Linked DNA regions of Homo sapiens: all the other regions are linked to region 1. Evidence: promoter capture Hi-C in human tissues and cell types (Jung and others, 2019). All regions are on one chromosome and are shown on one strand. Each heading gives the region's core, a stretch centred on a gene start or on the middle of the fragment in contact. The rest is flanking DNA. Distances are from core to core; before and after follow the strand shown. Region 1 holds the start of GRIK1 (glutamate ionotropic receptor kainate type subunit 1). Region 2 has its middle 38 kb from the start of GRIK1. Region 3 overlaps GRIK1 (glutamate ionotropic receptor kainate type subunit 1).

Region 1 (3,156 bases), core at 229-2,728:
TCTTCCCTCCTCAACATCACCAAAGTGCTCCAATGTAAGCCAGCACACCCAGCCTTGCCGCTGTTTGATATTCTCTGGTCTTAAAAATGCTCCCCGAATGAGACAAAATTTACTCTTCTACAATTTCCCTCTGACAATCTTATTTTTCTTAGCTCTTCTCACATATCTAACACTGAATAAGGCTACTTTCTTTTAACACAAGAATTCTTCAAATGTCTGAAGATAACCAGCATGTGCTCCTAATTCCTCTTGGTTTCCTCAATCTTTCCACGCAAAAATGCATTCCTAAATCCCTATCAGTCCCTCTTCTTATCTGCAGACATGTTCTGCTTTGTTAACTCTCATCCCAAAGTGTCCAGAACCAAGCCTACTACTTGAGATATGAACTGACTAGCTTTCCACAGTGGAGTTCTAACCTCCCTTGGAGAATGAACATGCATTTTCCCCACCATAGGGTTTTTAGTGAAAAGTATAGTGTCTGACACCACAAACAAAATACTCAGTAGGTATTTGTTGAATAATGAATGAATTAATTAATTAATACACGAATGGACTTTAAGATATATTAGATTCCTTTTGCAATTGTTTCCCACTCTAGGCTCATATAACAACTGTGGACATACTTTTCATATGGATTTGGTCAGTTCTTCAAAATCTATTTACCAGTTAAAAAAAAGAGATGTTAATATAGACCTAGCAAACATATATATAGAACATTCCCCACAAAACTCGAAGGAAATTAATCCAACATAATCAAATGCTGATTTCCCTAGGGAAGTGTCCTTGTCCTTCTACAGAGAAACAGTCTCCAAACCTACATTGCTAAAATAGCCTATCTTTCAGTATTCAGACCTGACAGTTAAAAGAAATGAAGAAAAGTAGCGGCGCTGGAGGCTGCTTCTATCTCAGTGGCATGTGTAAATGGAAGCAATTTGCAAGAGATTATCTTGGGTCCAAATAGGAATGAAGCCACTATAATCTTGGAGTACTGAAGCTTTCTCATTCCTCTCCCCCTTCCCCTGTTCATCATCCTCGTCAGAGTCAAAACAGGAGCCCCGGTATTTTCCAAAATATTGGAGGTGATTTTCCATTAAATGATGGGACGAGTCATAGCTGGCTGTCTATAAGACCCCCTAACAGGTGCACACGGACATTACCAAGAAGGCTTCCTTGCCACTCACAGCGGACAGCAGAGGCTTTCTCTGCTCGGACCAATAGTTTAGATTTGATCTGTCTTGAGAATGCAACACTCGATCGACTTCCCAGCAGCAGAGCGCAAAGTTGAGGGAGAGAAAAAAGAGCGTGTGTGTGTGTGTGTGTGTCTGTGTGTGTGTCTGTGTGTCTGTGTGTGTGTGTGCGCGCGCGCGCGCGAGTATCTTGATCAGTGGGGTTGGGGCGGGCAGTAAATAAAGGGTGGGGCCAGCGAGGGGAGGAGGAAAGCAAAGATTCAGAGAAGCCGGAACGTGGCTCCGCTCCCAGTTAACCTGCTGGAGCTCATCAGGCTTGCTCAGAGCCCCTGCACCAACTCACCCTGTACCCTCTCTCCTTCTTCGTTAGTCTTCTTTCCCCCTTTTCCCTCCTCTGTCTGTGCCTATCCCCCGACTTTTGCATCTGACCAAAGGACGAATGAGGGAGACGTTCCTGCAGATCGGGGCAGCAACTTTCCTCAGCTGGTCTCTGGGCTCCGGGAGCCAGAGAGCGCTGATCCTCCGCGGTCTGCGGCCCATGGAAGAGGAGGAGGAGGAGCCGTGATGGGCTAGCGACAGCACTGAGGAGCCCCGAGAGAGCTCAGCCTTGCCAGCCAGCTCCGCGGTCCCACGCGGGTTCCCTCGAGCTCGCTCCGTGGGGAGCGCGCAGCGTGCTTGGAACCGGAGCATCCAGAGAGGATGAGGCGGGGACCCGGCCCAAGTTGGGTGCATCTCTCGGGCGTCCGGCAGCGGCTGTATCTCGGCATGAATTAAGAAGCTAGGAAGATGGAGCACGGCACACTCCTCGCCCAGCCCGGGCTCTGGACCAGGGACACCAGCTGGGCACTCCTCTATTTCCTCTGCTATATCCTCCCTCAGACCGCCCCGCAAGTACTCAGGATCGGTGAGTGAGCCCCAGGCTGCCTGCTCGGGAGACGTGGTCGGTCGCCGCACCAACGCGGGTGTAGCGGGTCCCGGGCGAGGCAGCGCGCGGCGGCGCAGGAGCCGGAGCTGGGGAAGGTGGAGGTCAGTGCTCATGGGAGGCTACACAAAAAAGGGGGAGCCGCGTCACTGCTTCCCTCCTGGAGGGTGCCGGCCTTCCCCGGGAGGTACAGTTGGCGGGTTTTTCAATCTGGGCTCCAGGAACGCGGGCTAGAGTGCGGGGATCCAGGTTCGCAGGGACCGGCACCCCTACTCTGGGCAAGGGATCGCGAGCCGCTGCAGCCACTTGAGTTGGGCGCAGAAATGAGCTCTCCCAGCCTCCTGGGTGGGCGTCTGGCAGTCCAGATCCGCAGTCCCGGTGCCTGGCAACCTGGGCTCTGGGCACTGGCAAGTATGCACGAATCTCAAGAATACAATACAGGGACCACTAGGGATGTGGGAATATCCTAGAGCCTGTTACCCCAGAGCCTCCAAGTTTTTATGCCTAAGTTGGATTCTTCCACATGGAGTCTGCCAACTCTGACGGGTTCCACTAGATTGGGGCAGAGTTCAGATCTGACTTCGAGCTGAAGATTCGAAGAGTGAGAAGGACGGTCAGTTAGCAACATCAGCAGACACTTAAGTTTCCCACTTGCTCCCTAATTTGCCCGCTTGCCTGCCACTGAGCAAGATCCAGTTCCCAGTCCAGGTAGCTTCCTAGGAGATTCAGGGCTCTGATCTCGAATGAGATAAAAAAGACACCGGAAAGCTGAATGTGGGCAGCCCAAAGATGACAAAACGCAAGGACAGTGGAAGGGGCGTGGACTGACAGCCATAAGTGTATAGCACCCACCACCAAGGTTTGGTCTGTGGCTGCATAGGGCAATTTCTGAACTTTGAGGGTTGACACAGCTCTTCGCCTTTTAAACTAAACCCAGTTATTGTTCGCTGAATCTCATTTGCCCTCCTCCTTTCCCAACCCATCGGGCTTCTTAGAGTCACGGTCACAGAGGGAGCCACAGGAGAAGCTGTGACATCACATGGGTCT
Region 2 (3,525 bases), core at 632-3,131, 38 kb before region 1:
TTGCAGTATAATAATCCTAAGTCTTCCTCTTCTCACATCTCCTTTCTTCTTCTTCCCCTCCCCAGCAAGATACATAGGAAGAAAACTAATATTACTTCAGCCACACAATCTTGCCAAAGCAAACTAAATACATGAAATTTCAGGAGAGCTAAAAAAAAAATAGTGTAGGAGAGAATCAGTATAGAATTGCCAACTGCTCCCTCACAAAATTCCTCATAAGTACTTCAGTCTTTGTGTATTTGTTTAAAGCAATTCCGGATACCATTCAAATACTTTCCCCTTGCAGTGTGAATTAATTTTAGCTGACAAAGTATAAGTTTCCACTCATCTCCAATTCTTATCAAGTAAGCAAGTTATACCTTCTTGAAGAAGAAACTGAAGCTACTTTGCATCCTCCTTTGGTAATTTTAATAAAAATAATTAGCTGTATGCCTTGGAACAAGTTCTTTTTGTGAGTCAAGGGCCTTCCTGTCCCTGTAAGGATAGTCACTCTAGTGCTCTGTTACTTGTATTAAAAGCAAAGAAAGTTAAAATCATATGCAAAGCTTAGCTAATATTTGGCTTTCATGAATCATTTTTTTCCAGTGGTATTTTGAAGCATAGTTATTACAATGTCACAAATTCCCTTGATGATCTTCTCAAGATGTGCCTGTGAGACATTCTCTGGCCTTTGAAGAACTAATTAAAATGGGGACTGAAGATGGCAGATCCTCCTTGGGCCTTCCTGGGTATAATCTGACATAGGAGACCAGGAAGTTATGTTAAAATTGGATGCACCCTACAAAGAGGCCAACACACCATCTTGACTATTCCCTATTAGGACACATCGATGTGAGGCTAATGAAACTCAAAGCAACGTGGTCTACTTCTATCGAGCATTTGATTAATCATAGGGTCATGTCAAAAACAATGCTAGTCTTAAGGATAAATATTAAAGCATTGTGTTTGAGGAGTCCACTTCCCTCTGTCTGTGTCTCTCTTTACATATATGCGTGTTTATATGTGTACGTGTATATATATATATATATATGAATGTGAATACTTCCGTATTGAAATATATTGTTTCCTACAGGAGCAAAATACCATTGTAGTATGTTAATATTTTAAATATGTCGTATAAGTTTTGAAACATAAATAAGATGATGAATTTTCTAGAATTCTGTATCATCAAAATGTTGACAATAAAATGAGTCCTAGGCATTTTTCTCTAGTGATTAATGAAATACCCTGAGTTAATTTAAGTCCCCTTTTGACATGCTACTCAAGAGACAAATAAGCAATATACTTTTTAAAAATCATTTAGTAAATTTTTAGCTTGATATTCTCCTAGTGATTGGCAGAGATTTGGACAATATCAACATTGTAGAATACAAAAATGAATGAATATTTAAGTATAAAGTACATTAGATAATTGTTTTTCAGCAGAGTGTCCTTTGAAATTGTTTTGAGTGCTTAAAGAGCTAATTTTAAAATCAATTAACTTAGCATTTTTTGAGTATACACTATGCATACTAACTCAACATAGGATGAAGGCTAAAAGCATGTATGCCAGCAGGGGTGTGAGGGACTGAGCCTCCGGTTCAGAAGGAAAACTATGTGACAGAAAATCAAGTTAACAAACTGGATTATTCTAGAATCCTTTTTGTAAAAGTTGTCCAGAGAACCCATTACTAAGTTATGTGTTTTGAATTAGACAATTCACTTCCATGTATTTTTCTTCCCAATGTATTAAGTTTTCCTCCCATTTTATTAAGTTGAAATATTACCACGAACACCCATTTACAATTCACCAAGACTCTCCAACTATTAACAGTTTGTCACATTTGCTTTATTTTTCTCTTTATCTCTCTCTGTGTCTCTCTCTCTTTACATATATGTGGGTTTGTGTGTGTGTGTATATATACATACGAATATGAATACTTCCTTATCAAAATATATCATTCCCTACAGAAGCAAAATATCATTGTCATATGTTAGAATATTTGAAATATATATTTGTTTTGAAATGTAGTCAAATTAATTATTTTTAGAATTGAAATGAAAATGTTGACAATTTAAATATTCCTAATTGTCCATCCCAATTTTTTTATATCTATTAACCAGTGCTCATGCATTGCCTTTAGTGGTTATGCTACTTTAGTTGCTTTTAATCTAAAATATTGTTTTACCTTTTTTGTGGCTGCTTATGATTCTGTTATCTTGAAGGTTAAGCCAGTCATTGTTTAGGATTTTTCTTATGTATACCTTGCGATCAATTTCAGATTTAACATTTGTGCCAGGATCTTTCATAACAGTATTTCTTATTGTGTCACATAGGAAGGCCCATAATGTCATGTTGTCTTATTATTGATAATGCTAATTTCGTTCACTAAAGTGGTGACCACTGGGTCTCTCCATAGAAAAAGTGTATTTACCCCTTTGTAATTGATAAATTATCTCTATAGTAATGTTTTGTGGCCATATGTTATTCTACTCCCTAAAAAGCTTCTGCCAAATGGGTAGCATTTATAGATGATTCTTGAATGTGCCAAATATTTTGGATTGCAAAATAATGATTTTAAAAATAGATCATATCTTGTATATTTATTAGCTGCTATTCTTTACCACCATGTCTTAATAACTAATAATTGAAAGATGTGTCGTCGTAAATCCAATGTGAATAATTTATTTCCACAACTTGCAATAAAATGTATAATAGAGGACTAAAAGGAAACTTAGAGAACATTTTGCTCATTGTACCTTCCAAAAAGAGTTGTGCATTAGATGGATAAATGACTTTTGTTTTTATGTTTGTCACCGGAGACACAATGAGGAGTAAAGCATGACCCATCCCTCGTCTCTGGATACTCAGATGTATATAGGGACACTTTACCTGTATTATTTTGATTTATCTTCAGAAAAACTCCACAAAATATATGTTATTGTCAAATGCTTAAAAATGAGAAAACTGAGGCAAAATGTTTAAGCAACTTGTCCAAGTTCAAACCATTAATAACTAGGAAAGATGTCTCCTAAATATAGTTTATACTTATCTCTTAACCATAACATTATAATGTATGGGTAACAGGGGCTTCTAACTGGTAAGGATTCTTCTAATGCAACAGAAAGGATAATTCCTAAAGATGCAATCCATATGTTGCTGAGTAAGTGACACTAGGTACCTTCTGAAATGAAAAATTTTGCAAGACCATCATTAGCAGCAACAGCAGCATAGCAAACATTTAATGAATGCCTATAATGTACTAGGAATTGTTGTAAGCTCTTTGTTTATCTTAGGAGTCAACTAGAAAATGATAAATGAAAAGCCCCAAAAGTATCAGCTGTGAGATAAACATAGGAATAGAGTAAGGAGTGGTAGAATAAGAAAAAATGTCCATGTAAATGTCTTCAGTTGTACCAAAGAGCAAAGGAACACTTTTATTGGCTGCTGCTGGAGCTCAGCGAGAAGTTTCAGTGGTGTGTTATTCTTCAGTGTGAGAGACTTTGCGACTGAGCTAGAGAGAAGTGGCTTACTAGTTACTGTGA
Region 3 (3,058 bases), core at 382-2,881, 56 kb after region 1:
AGGTGCTGTATTTAATCAAGGGCTAAATTCTATTCCTTCACTCCCACCAATTCTATATCACAAGATTTTTTTGCAGATCTCTAGGAAGGAATTTATTTTTCTTACGTTAAGAAAAAATAATTCCATCCATCTGAGTCCCACTGTAAACCAACTACAGCTAGGTCAGGGTTGTGGTATGAGAAGAGAACTTTTAATATGCCTATATTTAGTTAAAAACCATCTAGCAAAGGCTTAGAAGAAGAAGTTGAAGACTATTTAACCATACAACGTCCATTGCCCTGACATGAAACTCTGACATACATATGAACATTCATGAAAGCAAATCCACGGTCAACACAATAAATACCCTGATTTGATCATTATACAATATATGTATGTATTGAAACATCACATTATCACATTTTTGCTCAATAAATATGCATAATTACAATGTGTCCATTAAAAAGTAGTTTTTAAAATGCAGCTCATTCTCATTTACTCAAGGAGACCTAAAATATGGAGATTTTTCCAATAATGAAAATAATATTGAAATGTTTCATTTGGGATTAGAATCTTTTATGGAACAGTTTTGAGCAACATCGTCACCAAGTGAACCAGTATCTGTGTGATTTGGGAACTTTTTCTGGATAGCTCTGTGGGTGAACACTGGATGTCTGTTGAAGATTCCCTTCCAGCAATTAAGTAATCATAACTTTATGCATGTAGCTATAGTGAGAGATTAAAATTAAGAGGTTTAGTGTCAGTTTTAACTAGTCAAGTTACTTAATTTCTAAATCTCCGTTGTCTCGTCTTGAAGGTGGAGATAATAACTACTTTAAGTAAAGCATGTAGCACAATAGCTGATAATCTATGTTTTCAGTTATTACTAGTAATGCAATGTAGCTCAGAAATCCACAAACTTTATCTGTTAGGTTAGAAACATTGGCACCCACTTTCATGTTTTCTTATGTTTTACGTCATCAAATGGCAAACTGAGAGATGAACATGGCCATCAAGTAACTCTCTCCCTGACTTAGTAATTTCCTTTCTGTTTCCCTGTCCATAATACAAAGAGTCGGGGGTGGGAGTAGAGGGACGAAAGTCCTCATATGGAAAAAAATACAACCAACCTGTTCTTCCTCTTGACCATACTTAGAGAAATGGTAAGTAGACTCTGGTTAATTCAAAAACATTTTACGATAGGATAGTAAAATGAGATTTGTTTTAAAAATTACTCTGGAAAAAGGATTTATAATGGACAAATGTATATATTTAGAAGATTAGACCATATCTTGGCATCTGGCTTTGTGAACCATACATGTTGGAAAACTTAACCCTCTGCCTGTTCTTTCAACTTCCATTAAATATAATATGTTTGCTCATAGCAGCTTATCGAACAGTGATATGGGCAGGTAACAGAACCATACTACAAAGAAAAATTATTTAACAGTAGACAATGTGTTTCCCTGTATAAAATGGAGCAGCACATGGGAGTCAAGATTTCTGTCTACCTCCTTTCTTATCAATAGATTACATAAAGCATCCCCCCCTTCTTTTTAGGAAGAGTCAGAGTGGAAAAGGACTTCAATATCTCAGGCCTGAAGGAAACCTGTTGAAGCCTGTCGGGTTTTCTTTGATTGGTTTTCTCTTAGGTATTTTCTTTCTAATTATTCTGTGGTTTCACTGGTATTCACTGCAGAATATAGCTATTCTGTGCTGGGAGATTTTGAAATGTGTCTGTTCTAATTTTCTTGCAATGAGAAAAAAAAGAAAGTGGACTTTGAGAAAAAACACATAAATATTTTTAAATTTTAAACTATCATTGTAAACCAGTCTTTCCATTCCCATTCAGAATGTCACAGGATTATAGTCTGATTTCTTTATAACCTGATACCTGATAACACTGATGCCTTCCTGGGTGTCTTGAGTGTGTCTACAGAAGATCCTGATTTGGAAGGTCTAATAAGCTTTTATATTTCATTTTTATTTTTTCTATTTGGAAGGAAAATGTGCACCACTTGCTTTGTGGCAAACAGGGGACCTCAGAGGCTGATATTAAGAACTCTCTGCTTGTTAGTTATGACTTTCTTTCCTGAAACAACCAATAGTCAGTCTCGCTGAGTGACTTAATGAAGTAAAACCATTGCAAATCTATATACTTGAGAATTCTTTACTTGCTAAAGGTCAAATGTGAAGCCATTATTTTTATTTGACTCACCAGCCTCTATTGCACTTATTATCAGTTCTAATACTGTTTCATAGAACCACAAGAGTTTATAAAGTAAATTTAAATGGTTGCTGAAAGTTAGATAACTAGAAATATTTTGTAGAATATACAAATACATTTTCCTACTTCCCGATATCTGAAAACCACTAAATGGGTTAAGTTACCTTCCAAATATATTAAATACTGCTTCCAGATGAGCATGACATTGTTGAATTAGTATTGGATTGAGTCCCTCAGGTATTAGCAACAGACAAGCCACGATTCCATGAACACAGAACTATGTTAAAGCCTGAAGGAGGTAATGACTAAGGTTAAAGCTGGACTTCTGGTTTCAAGGACCTTGGGGGCTGGTTGGAAAGAAAAAGTAATTAGACATCAAGAAAGTAAAGCAAGTTGCAGCCCCTGGTTATTAGTATAAAAATAAATAAGGAAAAGAGAGCTCTGTATAGATCGTGGTAGATAGAGAATGCTTCATGGAGGAGGCCAATGTTCAGTTAAGACTTAAAGGATAAACAAGAATTTCATGTGTGGAGAAATAGAAACAAACTTTCCAGGCTCATTCAATTACTCATGCACTTTTGCCTAGCACTTATTTACCTAGGCCAGGGAATATGCATGTGAGATAATTCTCTGTTCCCAAGGACCCTCATTTCGGTTCTGTGAATTTGATAAGCTTTTTCCCTTTGTAAGTTCTTTGCGCATGATATTCCAACTACATTGCTTTGGATTCTTCCCCATCATGAGCTGCTTCTTCCAGGCGTCAAACCACACATTGGAGTGTCATTGTGAGAGCACAGAATTCAGAGGGAGACATCATGAGCAATTCTTACCCACCAGCCCTCCTTTCTTCCC

The links. Contacts are between HindIII fragments. The study calls those that stand out against the background at their distance.
Region 2: a fragment that was not itself captured here is called in contact with the fragment with the promoter of GRIK1 in region 1 in 2 of the 25 tissues and cell types used here (adrenal gland and dorsolateral prefrontal cortex).
Region 3: a contact is called between a fragment that was not itself captured here and the fragment with the promoter of GRIK1 in region 1, in 2 of the 25 tissues and cell types used here (mesendoderm cells and thymus).

The regions. Positions count from the first base shown.
Region 1 is chr21:29,938,318-29,941,473 of GRCh38, reverse strand. It overlaps GRIK1 (glutamate ionotropic receptor kainate type subunit 1), which reads left to right and starts at 1,478. Exons shown (of 18, transcript NM_001330994.2): 1 at 1,478-2,091. The coding sequence starts at 1,974. RefSeq lists an enhancer at 1,691-2,192. The HindIII fragment of the contact is 7,699 bases long and covers 1-3,156 here.
Region 2 is chr21:29,975,969-29,979,493 of GRCh38, reverse strand. No RefSeq gene overlaps it. Among named protein-coding and RNA genes, the nearest start is that of GRIK1, 38 kb to the right of the region's middle. The HindIII fragment of the contact is 3,709 bases long and covers 27-3,525 here.
Region 3 is chr21:29,882,460-29,885,517 of GRCh38, reverse strand. The region is part of intron 1 of GRIK1 (glutamate ionotropic receptor kainate type subunit 1); the gene reads left to right. Among named protein-coding and RNA genes, the nearest start is that of GRIK1, 56 kb to the left of the region's middle. The HindIII fragment of the contact is 6,023 bases long and covers 1-3,058 here.